2 separate regions of the Homo sapiens genome follow, and region 1 is linked to region 2. Evidence: promoter capture Hi-C in human tissues and cell types (Jung and others, 2019). All regions are on one chromosome and are shown on one strand. The core of a region is centred on a gene start or on the middle of the fragment in contact, and the rest is flanking DNA. Distances in the headings are between cores, read along the strand shown. Region 1 has its middle 72 kb from the start of GOSR1. Region 2 holds the start of TMIGD1 (transmembrane and immunoglobulin domain containing 1).

Evidence for each region. The method cuts DNA at HindIII sites, captures the fragments that hold promoters and counts their contacts. A contact is called where the count stands out against the background at its distance.
Region 1: a contact is called between a fragment that was not itself captured here and the fragment with the promoter of TMIGD1 in region 2, in 1 of the 25 tissues and cell types used here (adrenal gland).

Annotation. Positions count from the first base shown.
Region 1 is chr17:30,547,191-30,551,225 of GRCh38, forward strand. No RefSeq gene overlaps it. Among named protein-coding and RNA genes, the nearest start is that of GOSR1, 72 kb to the left of the region's middle. RefSeq lists an enhancer at 3,828-4,035. The HindIII fragment of the contact is 6,952 bases long and covers 1-4,035 here.
Region 2 is chr17:30,331,929-30,335,936 of GRCh38, forward strand. It overlaps TMIGD1 (transmembrane and immunoglobulin domain containing 1), which reads right to left and starts at 2,129. Exons shown (of 7, transcript NM_206832.3): 1 at 2,072-2,129; 2 at 124-230. The coding sequence starts at 205. The HindIII fragment of the contact is 9,023 bases long and covers 1-4,008 here.

The DNA.
Region 1 (4,035 bases), core at 664-3,163, 220 kb after region 2:
CACAGACACAGACCGAAGACCACATGGAGACACAGACAAGAGGGTGGCCACTTATAAGCCAAGGAGCCAGGCCTTAGAAGAAACCGATTCTGCTGATACCTTAGTCTTGGACTTCTGGGACCCCGAACTGTGAGAAACAATATTTCTGTTATTTAAGACCTCCATCTGTGGTATATTCTTACCGTAGCCCTAGCAAACTCGTATTGATTTTTGATACCAGGAAGTGGAATGCTGCTCTAAAAAATACGCAAAAATGTGCAAGTGGATAATGAGTAGAGGCTGGAAGAGTTTGGAGGTGCATGCTGCAAAGGCCTAGATGGTCTTTTTTATATGTTTAATTTCTGGTCAAAAATATTTTAGTTGTTTTATAGAGTTCTGGGAAAATAATTACCTAAGGAAAAGAAATAGCATTGCTTATAGGCGGGTTTGAATATTAGCCCTGTAGCTTTGCTGAGAAATTGAGAAATTCTTCTTGGTTAGAGTCCTGAATTACATTAAATGGAGGGATAGGGTTAAGGTGTTTATTTTGTGTTTTTTGCTTTCAGCTTGGTGTTTTTGGTTGTTGTTGTTGCCCCAAGTGAGTCCAAAACCCAACCGGGAAAAGAACATTAAATCTTAAAACTTGAGAACCTTCTTTGACTCCATGGCCCATGTTCCAGATATACTAGGATGTGGTTGGGCGGCCCAGGGCTTCAGGTGGCTCTTCCCCCATGGCTTTGCTGGGTGCAGCCCAGGCAGCAGCTCTCACATGTTGGAGTTTGATGCCTGAGGCTCTCCCAGGGTGGACTTGCACACTGCTGGCTCTACCATCCTGGAATCTTGGGGATAGCCTCTTCCCCACGGCTCTGCTGGGCATTGCCCTAGTGGGAACGTTCTGTGGTGTCCCTGCCCCTGTGGCAGTTTTCTGCCTGACCCCAAGGCTGTCTGGGACATACTTTGAAATGCAGGTGGAGGCAGCCATATCCCACAGCTATTGCACTCTGCACACCTGCAGAATGAGCACCACGTGGATGCTCCAAAGAGTTTTCTGCCTGTGTCCTCTGGAGGGGTGATAGCATGTCCCCCACTCCACCAGGGCCCATTGAGCAACACTTGGAGCAGCCAAGGAGCACCACAGCACAGTGTGGGAACCAGCGACTTCAGGGAGTGCTGGGCAGCAAGCCCCAAGGTCCTCAGGGGTCCTCAGGGCGCCCCAGGGCCTTTCTTGGAAACCGTACTGCCGTCAGTGCCCTGGCACCATGGGCCTGTGACGAGAGTGCGGCCTGAGTGATCCACACAATGCCTTCAGGGTCGCTCTTCCATTGTCCTGGTGAGGAGCACAGCCCTGATCCACGCAGGCCTCCTGACCCACACCCTCGTGTTCGCTCCCAAACACACTTTCTTATCTGTTCAAAACGGGCAGGCTGAGAAGGCTAAAAGTTTCCCAAATCTTTAAGTTCTGCTTCCCTTTTGATTATAAGTTCTGTCTCTAAATCATTCCTCTTTTTCTTTCATTTTCCTATAAACGTTCAAGACAATCAAGCCGCTCCTTCAATACTTTGCTGAGATATTTCTTCTGCCAAATTTCAGTTACATCACTCACAAGTTCTGCCTTCCACCAAACACTAGTGCTTTGCCACTTTATGGCAAGCGTCACTCACCTTTCCTCCAGTTTCCATTTACCTCTTCTTGATTTCCATCTGAGACTTCATCAGAATGACCTTTCCTTTCCATATTCTTTTTTTTTTGTTTGTTTTTTAGAGACTGGGAGCCACCGACATGCCAGGAGACAGGCCTGGAACAGAACCTTCCTGCACAGCCTCAGAAGAAACCCACCCTGCTGACACTTTGATCTTGGACTCATGGCCTCCAGTACTGTGAGACAGTAAGATTCTGTTGTTGAAGGTGCCCAGTCTGTGGTACTGTAAAACAGCCCTAGGAAACTAACATAGCCTATTAGCCTACAGGGTGAAGAGATGGAATTCGCAATGGACCTCCAGGCTTACTGTCTACAGCTCCCAAAGTGTGCTGTCGGACCCTTGGGTGTGTGTAGGTATGCAAGATAATTTTGGGTGGTGCAGAGTGAATAATGTCAACTTACATAATGGATTTATCTTACTGGATAAATCACGGGTTCCCTCCTGTTTGGAACCAGGCTGCACAGCAGGAGGTGAGCAGCCAGCCAGTGAGCAAAGCTTCATCTGTAGAAACAGCCGCTCCCCATCCCTTGCATTACCACATGAGCTGTGTCTCCTGTCAGATGAGTGGTGCCATTAGATTCTCATAGGAGCATGAACCCTACTGTGAACTGCGCATGCCAGGGATCTAGGTTGTGTGCTCCTTATGAAATCTAATGCCTGATGATCTGTCACTGTCTCCCATCACCCCCAGATGGGACCATCTAGTTGCAGGAAAACAAGCTCAGTGTTCCTACTTATTCTACATTATGGTGAATGGTATAATTATTTCATTATATATTACAGTGAAATAATAATAGAAATAAAGTGCACAATAAATGTAATGGGCTTGAATCATCTCCGCATCATCCTTTCCCCTTCTCCCGGGTCCGTGGAAAAGTCTTCCATGAAACTGGTCTCTGGGACCAAAAAGGTTGGGGACCACCGGTATAAATGCTTCTAAGAATAGTTAAGCAAATTAAGGTTTACATGCTGCTAAAAATATGGGTTTCAATGCTAAGAAAAATGGATGCACGTGAAAACACTCTCTTGCTGTGGTCCAGGGAATCTAAACCATTCTAACAGAGAAACGTGCAGCTTGGAGCTGGAGCTGCCCTCCGACATCCTGTCCACCTCATATCCCTGCACCACACACGCATGCACACATGCAAGCAGACATGTACACATGCATACGTGCATGCACATGAACGCACACACACGCACACATGCACATAAATACACGTGCATATACCTGCACACACACACACTCACACACACACACACACTCTCACTGTGCTTCATGCCCTAAGGTGGCCTGGGAGGGAATGCGTGTTTTTAAGGGGAATGAAGATGACTCAGGCCCCTCGTTCTCCTGGCGTTTGCACCAGTGTCTTCTCTGCAGACCATGCTTCAGTCTCTTTCTTGGCTCTCTCTCTTAGTGAAAGCAAGAAGCAGAGCCCCTGCGTGTACCTGGCTGCTTAGGGTGCAAGCCAAGTTCACAAGCTTCCCGGGGAGCCTGGTGAGAAGAAGGCACTGCAGAGCCTCCCCAAAAGAGGCGTCAACTTTTGGTGGATCCTTGAGCCTGGGAAAATGATAGACGGGACATCACAGTTCATCAGAAGACACAAACAAAATCCACTCAGGAAGAGCAGCAGTCAAAGGTTTTATTCTCTCGGAGAAGGTTCTCGGGGGCTGTAAGCAGCAGGCAGAAGACTTTATTGCATGTGTGGTTAGGTGATGGCAACCTCCAGTTTTCACTGGGAACTGGGATCAAGAGTGACCCGACCTCCTCCGCAGCCCCTAGGGATGAGTCAGCTGCCTCTTCTGCATGCTGACAAACCTTGGCTCTCATTTATGCCCCACCGCAAGCCAGCCACACCCCTGCCTCACCAGCATAACCACCTCCTCCTGACTTTAGCCCTGACAGCACTGCTTCCTGGTAACCTTCCCCCTCCCACCATGGTCCAGGCAAGCCTAAATGCCAGCGCCCTCCACCCACCCTTCCTGGGTGCCACTCTACTGTCTGCTTACCCAGATGTCTTAACCTGGCTTTACCAAGATGGAACAGACAACAGGGATGAGCCCCCAGCCTCTCCCAGGAAGGTTTGGCAAAATGCTCTCCATTTAGAAGCAGGGGCAGTGACGCGGCCTAGGGATGACCCCAGGCTTGTCACCCAAGCAGTAAGAAGGGCAAGGAGCCCAGTTTCATGCCCTTACCCTGGGAGGATGTGGCCAGGGCTCCACAAGTCCCTCGGGGGTAGGGGGAGTGCACAGGAGAGCAGATCCACCCTCCTTTTGAGGAAGTAGCCACCACTCCCAGGAAGCAGCAGATGGGGTGCACTGGCAGAGACCCTGCGTGCTGTAGAGCAGGGCCAGCAGA
Region 2 (4,008 bases), core at 879-3,378:
CCATGCTAACTGTGTAGTCATTCCAATTTGGAATTTAAGGATATATCCAATGCCCATTGATCACTTTTCTTAATCGGAAATTTTTCTTTATCTAAAAAGAGGCCAAAAAGAACTTTAACTTACTTGTCATCTCACGTGGCAGAAATAAAATTACTAAGAGAAGAAATCTTCCCATTTGCATTATGACACTGCTCTTCCATGCCATCTTTAATGAGTTAAACTCAGATCTACTAAGGGAAAAATAGTGCAGTTGGTTTTGTACTTTGGTCTGCAATGAGTTCGTGAACCTTCCTTCTGTCTATTATGCATTTAAAGTGAAGTCCCAGATGAATCATCCCAGCTATAACGGTACTACTTCTAGCTTTTAATTAAACAACCCTGTCTGACTAAGTTCAAAGTACATTTAGTAGTAAGAAATTTTTTTTAAAAGCAACATAAAACCACAGGAAATAGGCTATGACAGATAGAGCAGCGTCAGGGTGCCCTGGGGAAGATGAAACCAGTCTTCCCTAGAGAAACTGATAGAATTTCATTTTAGCAGAATGAAACTTGTCTCATTCTCAGACAGTCCCTACTGAACAAAGTAATTCTTGTTCTGAAAGTTTTTCTTGGGTCATTTTTGTAAAGATGTTCTCTGATAATAGAGAGTTTTTGAGACTACTCCAAATCCCATAGATTCAAATGGTGTGTACGTAGAAAAGCCTCAATTGAAACATGGCCTCTAGTTTAAACCATGTTAATCTTGTCTTTCTCCCACTATTCTCTCTCTCTCTTCCCCTTGACCCAATGGACTAAAAATAATAAATAATAAAGGTGTCCTTTCTCCCTTCTTGCTTTTGCTTCAACTCTCCCTCTCCCTAAGATATTCTCCATTTCCATCTGGGAAAAAAACATATATTCATTACTTCCTTTCAAGAGTACTACTATAAATATAGCGAACCACATACGGAAAACTTTCTGCGCAACAGGGACTGTGCTAAACACTTTACATACATCATTTCAGTCACAATTAAGCCTCCTAACAACCCTCCTGAGGTCGTTTCTATAGATTTAAAGAGACTATGTAATTTGCCTGAGATCCCACAGACAGTAAATGTCAAGGTCGGGATTTGAACCCAGACTCCCAAGACCATGCTCTTAACCACCCTACTCTCAACCACCCTACTACCCAATCTACTGCCTAGATTAATATTCTTTTCCTTTAAGAAGCTGCTGTTAGGCTGGGTGCAGTGGCTCATGCCTGTAATCCCAGCACTTTAGGAGCTGAGGCAGGTGGATTACCTGAGGTCAGGAGTTTGAGACTAGCCTGACCAACATAGTGAAACCCCATCTCTACTAAAAATGCAAAAAAAAAAAAAAAAAATTAGCCAGGCATGGTGGCGAGCGCCTGTAATCCCAGCTACTCGGGAGGCTGAGGCAGGAGAATTGCTTGAACCTGGGAGGTGGAGGTTGCAGTGAGCCAAGATTATGCCACTGCACTCCAGCCTGGGCGACAGAGTGAGGCTCGGTCTCAAAAAATAAAAATAAAAAATAAAAAAATAAAAAAAAGCTGCTGTTAATCTTTTCCAGTCCCTGGCCACTGGGAGTTCTCTCCCCTTAACACCAGTATTAATTTACAAGAGCTGAAATATACCTATACCTACTCTACTCCTCCCCTGTCCCAGGCGTGCCCTGACAGGAGTAAGTTTCATTCATGCCAGGCTCACCCTTTCTGGCAGACAAGCCTGCATCAATCTTTTCGTAAGATGCAATTACTACTAATATTGATTCTTTTGTAATTTTAAATATTTGCCAAAAAGATTTCTATCACAGTGTTGTAACAGTGATTACTGCAGAATGTGGTCAATAGTAGAGTTTTCTCAAGCGCTCTGCACTACAAGTACTCAATAAAAACTGAGAGTGCAGGCTTCTTGCCAGACCTCACCCAGCCCTATTAAGGGGACAAATCTATGTCTTCTCTTTCCCTCCACTCCACCGAGACAGCAACTTTTCAAAATGTATTCCCCTCACTTGGCTTGTTTTTAATCTGTATGACTCTCTACTTTCTATATAAGACAGTCTTACCACTTACCTCTTGAGCTCTGAGAAGCTGACTTCCTTGGCCAACTGTTCCTCTGCCTGAAAACCCTAAATGCTTTCCCTGTTACAATCCTTTATAATACTTGAATTTGAACGCTTTATGACAGCAGGGTCAAATAAATAAGATAACTTGGGTTCAAAGTCTGTTTTTCTTTATGGAGTCTTAGAGAAGATAGTAATTGGGAAAGACATCTTCTTAAGATCTAAGTTTCTATGTCTACCTCGGTTACTAGGTGGGGCCGGATATTACTAACAGGGATGTGTTGTTCCAAGAAAGCTTGAACTTGTGCAAAAATCTGTAGCGCATCTCACTGAATATTGTCATATTTAAGTAAGATGGCTGCGTTTTGATCATCTAGCCTGGGGATTGTGAAGGGACGAGTCCAAAGAGAAGTTTGACTTTAACAGAGGTCAAAACATTGGAAGATTCTACACAACTTAAATAATGCTGGAAAAGTCTTAGTTACCACTAGTAACCCAAGCCCAGTGCATAAGCTGTACCAAGCCAGGCATGGCAGGGAGCCGTTTTTTTGTTGTTGTTGTTTGTTTTGTTTTTTGAGGCAGGGTTTCACTCTGTCACCCAGATTGGAATGCAATGGCACAATTGTGGCTGACTGAACCTCTGCTCCCAGCCTCCCAAGGAGCTAGGACTACTGGCGTGAGTCACCATGCCCAGCTAAACTTTGTTAATATATATATTTTTGGTAGAGATGAAATTTCGCCATGTTTCCTAGGCTGGTCTCTAACTCCCGGCCTTAAGCAATCTGCCCACCTTGGCCTAGGGAACAGTTTTATCCTCTTGAGGCTCTCACCTGATTGGGAGATCCTTGCATTACACTATGTTTATGGTATTGTTAACGATGCAAATTTTATCTGCCAAGTACTATTGTTCCCATTTACACAAAAATATAACAGAAGAATATTTATAGTTATCTACACATTTTAACACACTGCTGAAGCACACCAGCAATCTGCCTCTTACTAGCTATGTAACTTTGAAAAGTTATTTAACCTCCATGAGCCTCAGGATCTTCATCAATACAATGGAAATAGTAATAGTACCCTCCCTACGGAGTCACTGTGAGGATTAAATGAAATGAAGCATGTGAATCTGCCGCACAGTAAGCTCTTGGTAAACAGTAGCTCTTATTACTATTATTATTAATATAGGCTGAGCAGGGCATCCTAAATCAACACAACCTCACTATAGCATTGTTCAAGCAAAAATCAGAGCTAAGAGCAGCTCCTGTTGGCTGGGTTGCAAGCACCACCCAAACAGGTTTTGAGTTTGCCTCTCCAGGGATCCAAGATTGTCATTTTAAAATGAATTTAGCAATGGAGTGATGTTTTGGTTCTTGGTGCCTCCAAAATAGACCCTGAGACAGAGCTTTGAGTGCCAATAGTTTATTTAAAGGTGATCTCGGCCGGGCACGGTGAGTGGCTCACTCCCTTAATCCCAGCACTTTGGGAGGCCGAGGAGGGTGGATCATTTGAGGTCAGGAGTTCGAGACCAGCCTGGCCAATGTGATGAAACCCCGTCTCTACTAAAAATAGAAAAATTAGCCAGGCATGGTGGCGGGCGCCTGTAATCCCAGCTACTTGGGAGGCTGAGGTGGAAGAATCCCTTGAGGCTGGGAGGTGGAGGTTGTGTTGAGCCAAGATTGGACCACTGCATTCCAATCTGGGCGAGAGAGTGAGACCCTTCCTCAAAAAAAAAAAAAAAAAAAAGTGATCTCAGGAAGCATAGTAAGGAAGTAAGATAGGGAAGGGAGGAAACTAGTAAAGAATGTGTTAAAGATTACTACCGTGAGCAACTATATCCCTGGAGCTTTGGACAAGTTGTATTCTGTGCAGCATACCTCAGAATCAACTACTGATAGGGAAGGAAGCAACTTCTCTCCATCTCCGGCTGAGGGACACTCTCAAGGT